Regions from separate parts of the Homo sapiens genome. Here all the other regions are linked to region 2. The links are contacts of gene promoters, found by promoter capture Hi-C in blood cells and fetal thymus (Javierre and others, 2016). All regions are on one chromosome and are shown on one strand. Each heading gives the region's core, a stretch centred on a gene start or on the middle of the fragment in contact. The rest is flanking DNA. Distances are from core to core; before and after follow the strand shown. Region 1 holds the start of LOC105371777 (a long non-coding RNA gene). Region 2 holds the start of KRTAP9-6 (keratin associated protein 9-6). Region 3 holds the start of KRT28 (keratin 28). Region 4 overlaps LOC105371777 (a long non-coding RNA gene).

Evidence for each region. Contacts are between HindIII fragments. The CHiCAGO score rates a contact against its expected background, and 5 or more counts as called.
Region 1: a fragment that was not itself captured here is called in contact with the fragment with the promoter of KRTAP9-6 in region 2 in 1 of 17 cell types (monocytes); the score reaches 6.1 in monocytes.
Region 3: a contact is called between the fragment with the promoter of KRT28 here and the fragment with the promoter of KRTAP9-6 in region 2, in 3 of 17 cell types (neutrophils, M1 macrophages and M2 macrophages). The highest score is 5.4, in neutrophils.
Region 4: a contact is called between a fragment that was not itself captured here and the fragment with the promoter of KRTAP9-6 in region 2, in 6 of 17 cell types (total B cells, M1 macrophages, M2 macrophages and 3 more). The highest score is 10.2, in total B cells.

The regions. Positions count from the first base shown.
Region 1 is chr17:40,850,316-40,853,540 of GRCh38, reverse strand. It overlaps LOC105371777 (a long non-coding RNA gene), which reads right to left and starts at 2,743. Exons shown (of 3, transcript XR_934754.3): 1 at 2,681-2,743. The HindIII fragment of the contact is 2,913 bases long and covers 345-3,225 here.
Region 2 is chr17:41,263,964-41,266,889 of GRCh38, reverse strand. It overlaps KRTAP9-6 (keratin associated protein 9-6), which reads right to left and starts at 1,512. Exons shown (of 1, transcript NM_001277331.1): 1 at 1,030-1,512. The coding sequence starts at 1,512. The coding sequence ends at 1,030. The HindIII fragment of the contact is 5,841 bases long and covers 1-2,926 here.
Region 3 is chr17:40,798,563-40,801,479 of GRCh38, reverse strand. KRT28 (keratin 28) reads left to right here and starts at 1,521. Exons shown (of 8, transcript NM_181535.3): 1 at 1,521-2,036; 2 at 2,481-2,563. The coding sequence starts at 1,587. It overlaps LOC105371776 (a long non-coding RNA gene), which reads right to left and starts at 146. Exons shown (of 4, transcript XR_934753.2): 1 at 1-146. RefSeq lists an enhancer at 2,343-2,917. The HindIII fragment of the contact is 3,919 bases long and covers 1-2,917 here.
Region 4 is chr17:40,908,861-40,912,039 of GRCh38, reverse strand. All of the region lies in intron 1 of LOC105371777 (a long non-coding RNA gene), which reads right to left. Among named protein-coding and RNA genes, the nearest start is that of KRT20, 25 kb to the right of the region's middle. The HindIII fragment of the contact is 4,061 bases long and covers 1-3,179 here.

The DNA.
Region 1 (3,225 bases), core at 552-3,051, 410 kb after region 2:
AGTTGAAGAGTACAGGGTGAAGTCCCAGGACAGGGAGAGAAAGAAACTGTACTCTCATGCTCATTTGGTTTGTCTGTGGGAGTCTTTAAATTGGTTGGCGTTAGCAGTTCCACAGTAATTCAGGATCCGTTTAAGCAATTCTTAAACAAAAGCCTCATGGTTCTAACATTAGAATTTCTATCTACAGGAACAATGGGGATGCAAATGGTCAGAATCTAAGGTTATGTGATGTTTAGTTACAAGGAAGTGGGTCAAAGTGCAGCCTGGTTAAAGCTTAATTATAACTACATTTCTGCCCAGAATTCTTAATTCTGTGAGGATGGCTTCAATTCCTTCAACAAGCTTTTATTTAGCACCAACTATATGTAAGACTCTACATAGTCTATTGAAAATAACCTCAGTTTTTATGATCTAAAGGCAAATACATGATAAAGTTTCATACAGTTTTTACATTGTATATTACAATTTACATTGGATAAAAAGTACCTCCCAAGGTGCTTTACGGTGTTTTCACTGGATACCCATTTTAAACAGCCTTATGTGCTGATTCTGGATGATAATTTTAATGTTAAACTTCCCTAGCCTATCTAATATATGACTGAGTAGGCTGACAAATAATAAAATAAATGTTTATCATTTAAAAAATACAAATATATATAATCAGCATCCAATAGAGATAATCCTGGAACAAAAATTAGTACTACAGAATTAGATCCAGGCTAATCAGAATCCAGCAGTGGTGTTATAGGAAAGCACAACAATGAAGTCCTTCTCAGTGTTATTACTCAGAGGCTAGGGGTAAGAAAAAGTCCTTCAGGTGATGTGAAGTTAGGAGAATTTTACTCAGTTCCCCTGTGTGACTATGGAAGGTGTTTTTACAGCTTGCAGAGCTGAAGGAGATAGAACTGAACGCTGGCCAGTGGGAAGACAAGAACTGCTCAAGGGAAAGGAAGGTCTCAGTAGGGAGGAGAACCTGATGAAAGTTTTAGTCATCATTATCATGATTATCTGTCACCTCCAGGGTACACAGGTAACAGTTGCATTAAAGAGGAGATCATTTCTGAGGAGCTAAAGGACAATATAATATTATAACACCAAAGACACAAAGCTGAAGTAGCAGGTTACACAATTATTTGCCAATTTGTCCACAGGGAGACTTTTTAGCTGCACTTTCCAAAGCATTGGCACTCTGAAAACTTAATCATATAAAACTACATTCCCAACATGTAGAATATGTATCATAAAACACTTGCTATACACATATATCCAAACATCTTATGTCCTTATGATAATTTATCTCTGAACTAAAAATCTATTTAGGATCACTATGGATCATTTAAATTATGTTTCATTTTGTCAGAAAAAAAAATCAAATAATAAAGCATTATTTTAACTGGCTTTTACCTTTCAGTTAAATTGAACTTTAACTAAACAATCAAAGAAAAATTATTCCTCTATCAATGTTGATCTAAAAATCTTTCAATTGTAGCTTTTTAACTAGGTCAAGCTCCAAGTCTCCTGACCCTAGATTTATTTATTCATTCATTCAACAGATACCTATACATATCCTGGCCATATCTGGTATTTTGCCTCCTCATCCAAGCCACTATTTATGTCTCTCTCCTGGCTGACCACACAGCTTCCACCTGTACCCACCTCTCTTCCACTCTTTCCACCAGAGCTGGGGGGATCATTTTGAAAAAGCTGATCCAGTCACTCCATTGCTTAAAGGCCTTCAAAGGCTTCCTATTGTCCTTGGAATAAAGACCAAAACCCAGCAAGGTATGGCCTGGCCTGGCCCCCTCTACCCTCTTTCAAATCGTGTGCCCTCTCTCCCCCTCTATCTTCTCCAAACCTACTGGTCTTGTTTACTTTATTTTTGTATATATTTAAGATATACAGCATATGAGGTTTTGATATACATATACTGAGTGACAGCAATACTACAGTCAAGTAAATTCTAACGCCATGCTCCTTCCCACTCTGGCAGCTTCTCACAAACTTTCCCTCTTTACCTAGAATGAGCCTCCACCCCCATTTTGGCCTAGTTAACAATCCTAGTCACCAGTTAGGTCCTAACTCAAATGCCCCTCATTAACCAAGTCAGGTTCTCCTATTCTACCTTCTCATACTATACTGTAGTTATCCTTCACAGCTCTTAGCGCAATTTGCAATTATACATTTATTTGTATGAATATTGAAATAATGTCTGGCTCTACCACTGCATTCTCTCTAAGGGCAGCGGCCATGTCTGTTTTGCCCTCCACTGTAGCCCTGGCATCTAGCACAGTGCATAAAACAGCACATATACCCTACTGCATAGGAGACAATCAATACTTGTTGAATACCTGTGCACAGAATTACGTACAAATGCTAGAATATTCACTCAGTAAAAGCTGGAATAATGCCTGTATTACTCTCCTGGGCTCAAGCAATCTGTCCACCTCAGCCTCCCAAAGTTCTTGGATTACAGGTATAAGCCACTGTGCTTGACCACCTGTATTACTCTCTAGGTACCATTAAAAGCACTCAATAAACACTGGTTGCACAAACATTGAATGGTGGCGATATATTTCTTCTATTATTTTCTTGAAATAGTCATTGAATTTTTATCCACTGATTTATTAACTCTAAATTTTCCAACACTTATCTTTGGAAAGACTGAATGAACAAACCCTACCTTATTAAGGCGCAGAAGCTAAGGAGTGTCCATCACAAAGGAAGCAAAGAGGATGGTTTGCATAGATTCCATTTGAATCTATTTGTTTTGGTTACTCTATTTAAAATATGCTTGCGTCATATGAAATTGAATTCCACTTACTTCCTTCTCCTTAAATCTTAATAAAGGAATTAGGCTGGCTGTTTGAGACTAAAAAATCCATCAAGAAGTTGTTTGCATTTTACTGAGATATTTGTTGAATTCAATATTTCCAGAAAACCCTCAAGATACTTGTCACTCTATAGGGACACAAAATTTTCTTATCTAATATGTACAATCTTTAACTTGACAATTTCACAAGGCATATTGATATAAATCATATTGCTCAATATCTGGTGACTCAGTAGAAAGTGATCTTCAGTTTCAACAAGCAGTCTTTTAATTCATGACGCTTTTTCTTAAGGAAATTAACCTGAGGACTTTTTCCCATACATCTAAAGAGTACTAGAAGTTGCTTTCAAAACATAGAGTAACTTGGTTTCCATGTAGTATTTATAAGAAAAAAA
Region 2 (2,926 bases), core at 263-2,762:
AATATCATTTCTACTTTACCGAGAGTTAAATGTAAGTGTTCTTGGGCAGAAAGAGAAGCTCTCACCTTGGACTAGAGTCTGTCCTTTATTAGCTACATAAAATCACACACTAAATTGTTCTCAGCTGAAAAATTGAGGTAATAATACATAATAATAACTCTGTTTTCAGAATCAAATTGGATAATACATATAGCATGCAATATGTGTGTAAATCTCATATCAGCAATTCTGTAAAATAAAACACCATATGAGATGAAGGATGGTTCAGAATTTATTCAGAAATATATAGGTAAGAATCCCTGCTACTAGGGACATAGCCCAAAGTTACAATGAAAAGAAGAAAGAAGGGTAAAAGAAACATGAGGACAAAATTGAAAACAAAAATATGATTGCAAAGATTATTGATCAGTTGCAGAAACCTAAGTTTCTTAGAAGGAGAGAATGAAGCTCTTGACTTTAGAGTCGAATGGAGACCATGTCTCCACATTGAGAACACATGAAGCTGGCACATGATCCACAAAGTGTAAGGAAAAAAGAATCAGGATGAAGTATTCTGCCCTCCCTCAAGCTGATTCCCAAGATTTTAAACAGGCAAAGAAATAAAAAAAATTGGTGAAAGCATACTGTGTATCAGTAAAGTTTGAAAGTAAATCTGTCTTCTGAAAGATAAGTGAGTTGGGTCTGGGTGTGGTAGCTCACACCTGTAATCCCAGCACTTTGGGAGGCTGAGGCAGGTGGATCACCTGAGGGCAGGAGTTCCAGACAAGTCTGATCAACATGGTGAAAACTACTAAAAATACTAAAAATACAAAAAATTAGCCAGGCGTGGTGGCACAGGCATGTAATCCCAGCTACTCAGGAGGCTGAGGCAGGAGAATCACTTGAACCCAGAAGATGGAGGTTGCAGCGAGCCGAGAGCGTGCTACTGCACTCCAGCCTGGGTGACAGTGAGGCTCCGTCTCAAAAGAAAAAAAAGGTCAGTTGAGCAGAAGGTTGTTGTGTGAGGATGATGGTCCTCTGTGGTGCTGCTCAGCAACAAGAATGCTGGCAGCAGCTGGACACACAGCAGGCTGGGCAGTAGCAGGGCTGGCAGCAGCTGGATCCACAGCTCTGGTTGAGGCAACCAGGCAGGCAGACAGTCGTGGGGTGGTAGCAGGTTCTTCTGCAGTACACAGGTGCACAGGAGCTGCTCTGGCCACAGCTGGACCCACAGCTGGTTTGGCCACAGCAGCTGGACCCACAGCAGATGGGCTGGTAGCAGGGTGTGCTGCAGCAGGAAGGCTGGCAGCAGCTGGTCACACAGGTGGGCTGGCAGCAGGTGGTCCTGCAGCAGGTGTTTTGACAGCAAGTTGGGTGGCAGTAAGGCTGGCAGCAGCTGGACACACAGCAGGAGGGCTGGCAGCAGGGTGTGCTGCTGCAGGTGGTCACAATGGTGGGCTGCCAGCAGGTAGTCCTGCAGCAAGTGGTCCTGCAGCAGGTAGGCTGACAGCCAGGGGAGCAACAGTGGGTCATGTTGTCAGGGGTGGAGGGTGGGCTTCTGTTCAGAGGTGAGTTTCCCAGGATTTGATGACCCCTTGCAATCTGGACCTTTTATACATGTGGCCTCCAAAGTTTCCACCAATCAGCAGGATTTTTCTTTCTTGCTGTTTACAGTTGTTTTCCATAGTCAGTTTGGCATTGTCAAAGAGGAAGTCATTTCCTAAATGTTATGAATCTTTGGAAAGTAAGGGTTTAATCTGTTTCTTAATTGTAAATTACTCGTAGAAACTTTGTTTCAGATAAAAGGAAGGCAGTCTCATCATCAGCTTCGTTCCTGCTCTGACCAGCATCTCGTCATGTGATAGTTCCTGGTGACTGGGGAGGCTCAGGAAGTTCTCTCTGCCCAGTCTCATCCTTTGGCTGTATGTAGACTGGGAAGTGTCTGTGGGGAGAAGCATGATGTTGATATATTCACAGTGGTGAATTGAATCCATGCTTGGGACCAAGACTGTTCACCCACCAAAGTCTGATTCAAGACTGATAGGCATCTCTCTATGTACAACCTACTTTACCTGTCTCTTCCAGTTCTATAAAAGCCTCTTGGGAAGAGGGTGTTCAGCACAATGTGTGCTATGTGGCAGAGCAGAGCCAAAGCAAACACGTAGAAAGAGGAGGGGTTCACTGGAATTCACAAAGCATCAAGCAATCTACGTGCTGCGGTGACCATTCACCCTGATTTGTCTGGGACTGAGGGGCTTACCAGCATGAGAATGTGGGACTGGGAATTACTGTGACATTACTGCTTGAGGTCCAGGCAAAGCAATATGAGCTGTGGCTCTAGCCCTAATCCAGGTTACTGGCACAATCATTGCCATTTCTCTGTCTCTGTCTCTGTCTCTGTCTCTGTCTCTGTCTCTCTCTCTCTCTCTCTCTCTGTCTCTCTGTTTTCAGTGAGGGAATTAGGTGAGTTGAGATGATATCTGATTCCTCTTTGAGGTTTACCATTGTTTAAAACTTTTTAAATTATACCATTCATTTCAGAAGAGTGCAAATTATGAATTCCAACTTGATATAATATTACATTATAAATACATCTAAGTCCCCATTACCAGTTTACAAAATAGAAATTAATTCCATTCCCTCCAAATTATATCTTTTTACTTATCTCCAAAGGTAGCTAGTCACTCTATCAAGTTTTAATCCTGTAGGTCAGTTTTGTTTTTTTCTTTGACTTTTATGTAAATAAAAATTATAGAATTTGCTTCACTGTGTTTTTGGCATAATCAAAAGCAGCAATTATAACCTGGTCATTTCATTTTGGATCCTTCATGTTAGCAGACCAGCAGGTAGATAAAGGAGTTAATATTCCATGAGGGATAATTTTCGTGAAGCCATAGAGCGTAGGGAGAATATATCTGAAACTCAAGAAATTTACTATATATATTAA
Region 3 (2,917 bases), core at 272-2,771, 470 kb after region 2:
GACTTTGGTGACACCTGGAGTTGTGCCTACTTTAAAATTCTAAATTCTGGTTTCCACTATCCAATTTTAGCCTGTCATCCTTCACCTTTATCAATCTCCTCCTCACACTCCGCCTGCTCCATGACCTCATAAGGATACCCAATGACTCACCCTCTGCCCTTTTCTTCAGTCCATCTGTCCCTCTGGTTTTACTTTCTTCTTGCTATATGATCATACAGTCAATCGCCTCAATTGTTTTCTCAAGAACACCAGAAATTTCTTTGCCACTATTTCCTTCTTCTGGACCTGTCTTCAAATCCCAAAACCCACATCAATCTGATCATCATCCTTTCTATTCCTGCACCAGGATTACTTCCAAATATGCAGTTGAACATCATTATAAATGAGAGCTGGACCCTCCAATTTTCTTTTACTCATTGCTAGTCAAGTATTTTTCCAGTTCAGTATACATATTCTAAACAGTCATTCTTGCTATCAGTCACCTTCATCTGGAACATTCTGGCAACCCCTCAAATCCAGTTGGTCCAAACCTAAACTCAGTGTCTTCCTCCTCCTCTATTCCCCATCTCAGTGAATATTATGAGTTCCCAGAATCTAAAATTAATTACCTAAGAGTTATCCCCAATTCTGCCTTATTCCCTACTCTCCAAATTCAATCATATTACCATATGCTCTCAAAGCCATCTTCTCTGCATCCCCACTGCCTTCATCCTTCTCACCTGGACCATTATTCCAACCTTGTAATTGACCACCTTGTTTCATTTCAACCTGATCATTTTGCCCTCTGCTTTTTACTTAGGATTCATTACAAACTCTTTAGACCAGCACAGAAAGCTAACCATGATCCAGCCCCTGTCTGGACCTGACAATAGATTTCTTAAAGATTGTAATCACGCATTTTTCACTTCTGCATTTAGTTAACACTATGTCTTTCATTTTAGCACTTAGCATAGAGCACCAAACATCATAACCATGCTATTTTAAACAAAATAATAGGTCAATATTTGTGTCATTGTCCAAGATAATAAATAGATGTTATAATCATGGTAAGAACAGAGATGTCACTAGCCTCTGTTTTCTAAATAACACATTTTTTTCTGGTGGGATAAAATATCTGTTTCTGTAATTAGCAGTCCTTTATACCCCTCCATGGTAATTGAGACCCTACTGTACCTCACAGAACTCTATCATAATCTTACTTAACTTTATAAAAAATTTGATAATACCTGGCGCCAGATAATGACAGTATATGCCTAGGGTCTAGATGAAAGGAAAGGATTACTCACTCAAAATTAGAAGTTAAATTAATAAACTTAATATAGAACAAACCCTATTATATTTAAGATAAGAAATAGCCCAAAGCAACACCGAGGGATGTTAGACATTAATTATTTTTAAAATCACCCAATTATACATAATTTTATGCTAATCTAAGTGATGCCATTTTGCTTTTGGCATGTATAACTCAAATAGGAACGCCCCAATAATGATATATAAAAACCCAAAGAAATTATCAGTGCATGATATTCTGTTCTCTTGGGACATTACAGTTTTGCATAGACAAGGTGAACATTTCTCAAAACACCATGTCTCTCCAATTTTCTAATGGATCCAGGCATGTTTGCTTAAGGTCTGGAGCTGGATCTGTCAGACCCCTCAATGGAGGTGCAGGCTTTGCAGGCAGCAGTGCATGTGGTGGCTCTGTTGCTGGAAGTGAATTTTCCTGTGCCTTGGGAGGGGGCTTGGGCAGTGTTCCTGGTGGGAGCCATGCTGGTGGTGCCCTTGGAAATGCTGCTTGTATTGGCTTTGCTGGAAGCGAAGGGGGACTCCTCTCTGGAAATGAGAAGGTGACCATGCAAAATCTTAATGACCGCTTGGCATCCTACCTGGATAATGTGCGAGCTCTGGAGGAGGCAAATGCTGAATTAGAGAGAAAAATCAAGGGTTGGTATGAAAAATACGGACCTGGATCTTGCCGTGGACTTGATCATGACTATAGCAGATATCACCTAACAATTGAGGATCTTAAGAATAAGGTGAGAAATCACAGATTTGGAACTAACCCAAGTATTTAAAACTAAGAAATACCTAACAAAAGACATACAATAAGAAATGCTTCATGACTGTTATAACTTGTATTTATTTATTTAGATAAACAATTCTTCCTACTATTCAAAAATGGGCCCTTTGATTCATGAATTTTAATGTAGTTAAAATGTTATTAGTTCCATTGTTTATGTTGAAGTACATTCATAGGCATATGAATAAAAAAGTATTGTAGTTCTAAATTTAGGGGAATATATGAGAATAAATAAAACCATGTCTTTAATTTTTAAAAGTTAAACTTGAAACATTTTGATTATTACATAAGGAGGTGAAATTTTTATGCAAAAACTTGAGTAACCTTTTTCATTTCCTGAAATAATGAATCACATAAAAGCATACTTACTTGTTGTGTTCTCTGTTTTGGTTTATTCTAGATTATCTCCTCCACTACTACTAATGCTAATGTCATTCTGCAGATTGATAATGCCAGACTGGCTGCTGATGATTTCAGGCTAAAGTAAGTGACAGAAGAAAATCCTGCTCTAGAAAAAAGTTTCTATTTATTTAATTTGTTAAATAAAATTTCTATTTCATCCCAAGTAGAATGAACTATCACCTAAAAGATAAAAGGAAGCAAAGGATTTGTATTATAATGTTACAATCAACTTATACATAGTTATTATATTCCTGGGACAAAATATCAATATATTTCTCTGCCTGCCTAGAATACTGCCAAGCACAAAGTAGATGCTCAGTAAATCATTAGTCAACTAAGGAAAAACGTTAACTAAAATAAAATTCCAAAATGGTGTATTTTTATTTAACTAGGTTATGCTATTGGAATTTGTGTGATGAAATAACTTCCAATTAT
Region 4 (3,179 bases), core at 26-2,525, 350 kb after region 2:
TCAGAGTGGCCAAGACCAGGCTCTGTCTTAGACCACACTGTGGCTGTCTTAGCACAGCAGATATCCACAGCCGGACCCTCCCCATCACATGAAGCAGAAGGAAGAAATAAGTCCCCTTGTGACAAGCACTTGCCTGCTATATGTTTTTACAGCAAACAAAGGTTAAAACTACATCCTTCAGAGAGGAACCACTGAGTCTTCAGGCGACTGGAGAAGGGGAGCTGGGAGCCTGCACCTCTGAGCAAGCCAGAGACCCATGCTAGGGGGTCAGAGATTGAGCAGGCTGGGCAAGAGGAACCCAGACCCCTGCAGGTAGGGATCATGGTGGGTAGAGTCTGGGGCTGGGAATTCAAGGCTTTGATCTATTTCCAGTATCTTTGTCTTCATAGTATCTGATCCTCCCCGTTTTGCCCCACCAGACGTGAGTAAGGAGGAGAATTCATAGCCAACTCCAATAATTCTTTATAATAAAACTTTATAAGTGGTATCTGCTACTCTTTATTTATTTATTTATTTGTTTGTTTGAGACAGAGTTTCGCTCTGTCGCCAGGCTGGAGTGCAGTGTCACGATCTCGGCTCGCTGCAACCTCTGCCTCCCAGGTTCAAGCAATTCTCCTGCCTCAGCCTCCCGAGTAGCTGGGACTACAGGCACATGACACCATGCCTAGCTAATTTTTGTATCTTTAGTAGAGACGGGGTTTCACCACGTAGGCCAGGATGGTCTCGATCTCTTGACCCCGTGATCCGCCCGCCTCGGCCTCCCAAAGTGTTGGGATTACAGCCGTGAAACGTCGCGCCCCGCCTGTGCTACTCTTAAAGGATCCAAAGGATATCTAGAAGGGATTCACGTGCTCGTTTGGGTCCCACAGTACATCGAGGTTTGGGAGCCTCTCAGATATTTGCTTCCTGTCCTCAATTTTGTTTGGGTGCCTCCAGTAACCTCTGATATTTATATAAAACTATCTCACTGTAAAAGGGGCAAAGACCTAGTCTTCTGCCTCCAGGGCTTCTCCTGTGGTCATTTCTCATGTCCTCGCCATTGTGTCAGCCCCAGCTAAATGTTTCTTCTACAGGAGGAAAGGGAGCATGTAACCTCTTGCTCTCAAAAATGGAGAGGGGAAGAAAAAGTTTAAGATGGGTAAAGAGAGACTAAAACTGCAGGCAGCCGTCTTGTTTTCTCAGTCTCCCCTAAACCCACTCCAAGCTGGACGAAACCATCTGTTCACAGAAAAAGTACAAAGGAAAGAAGGGTTTGAGAATGTCAGGTAGTAGACAAAAAAGTTTCAGTTCCTACCCTTACAATGATCCCTTCTCTAAGAGCTGGCTCCCTTTACAAGACAACTCGTCAGAGTTTATTTCTGTACTGGCATTTATGTCTTCAAGGCATCCAAGTATCTTGTGGATCTTTCAACAGATCAAAAGGCAGAAAGAAAAATGTTCTTGGATCAACTCCTAGAAAAATCTGAAACCAGATTTTCCTGAGATATTTCAGGCCAGTCAGTGCCTGTCAGCTTTATACTGTGGCATCTTTCTTTTCAAATATGGATTAAACCCTGCGATGAATGAAAAGATTAAAAGCTCATCATTCCAGCAGCCTTAGTTTCTAAATTGTTGTGCTATCTCCTTAAAAACTTCTGTGCATTTGTATCACGCTGTCTGCTCTTCGGGGCCACTGCTTGTGTTGCAGGGAAGACACAAAGCATGAGAGTTCCGAGCAGTGGGCAAAGATGCTTGTCAAGAGTGTTATAAGGGGGACCAGGCATTGGGAAAGGAGTTGAACCTGAGGGACTTTCAGATTCGATTATTTTCCTCTTAATCGGAGAAGAGTTTGAGTTTATAAACAACATAAAATAACAGATATATGGAAGATACTGACGTTTTGGAGGGCTATCAATAAGATAGGGCGTGGCCAAATTACAAATAAAGTTTATTAGGACACAGTCATGAACGTTTGTTTGCATATTGTCTACAGCTGCTCTTGCACAAGGACAGCAGAGTTGAGTAGTTGCAACAGTCTCTCCAGCCCACACAGCCTAAATATTTATGACCTGGCCTCTACAGAAAAGAAAAAAAAAAAGTCCATCCCGTACTATAGATATTAGAGCAGGAGAAAATGAGTTGAAATTACAGCAGAACAGTCAGGCCTATCTCTGTCAATATCTCTGACAATTGAAGGGGGCAGGCTATTAAATCTAAAGTTGAGAGGGCCTTGGCCCCTTCGCATGCTATTAAAGATGACTGTGGGTCATTTCAAAAACACCTGGATGGTTTAGAATAGGTGCAATCATTTAAAAGATTGAAAAGCATCTGCTTTTCCCCCAGGTAATTCATGTTTAGGGAACAAGTTAAAAATAGAAGATATATTTTGCTTTTCACTTTTAAAATTGTATAGCTTCCCAAATATTTTTCAAGATAATTGGTCAGCTGTTGCTCACTCAGAAGTAATGCTGTTCTTGGTAAAATGCCAATTTGAACAGAGAAAGAAGGATGGTAATGGTGACTCACAAACCAGTTTCACCCGGAGCCTGGGAGAGGGTGCTGCGGCCTTTTGGAATAGGAAGGCCACGAACACCCCCTGCTGGCTATAGGGCAACATAAACCCGAACTCATCCTTTTTCCTGATCCAAGGCTCGGGTTGGACAAAGATCAACCATACAAGTCCTGTGATGGAATCAAGGAATATCAAACATTCATAATTCATGCCCAAGGGATGGTAGCATCTTGAAATTCAAGTAGTTTGTGTTACATGTACAGCAGCAAAGAACCACTACTAAAACAAGAGATAACCAGGTTTTCAATTATCTCCCTTAAACCTCCTAACCCCATTTAAAAAAAAGTTTTACACTACAGCCTTCTACATCTCATTAAACACAATTCCTGTAACAATGAAAAAAGAACTTTCTTCATCGTTTGAAACAGATCCTAGCCAAGGGTCTTGTTCAAAATAGTTTTAATCATATGAAATTGCCAGGATCCTACTCTGCTGACCCCTACAAAAGGCAACCTGAATAGAATTAGTCGGTCGACAATTGACAAAGATATGCAGGAGAGCCTGCAGCTGTGATGAGGCTGCCCTCCTTGACTGATGGACACAGGGATTGTAGGCTAGGGACTCAGGACACAGCCCTCTGTCCTCACAATTTTCCTGAGCCTCCTCTGAATTCCTCTGACTGATGAAA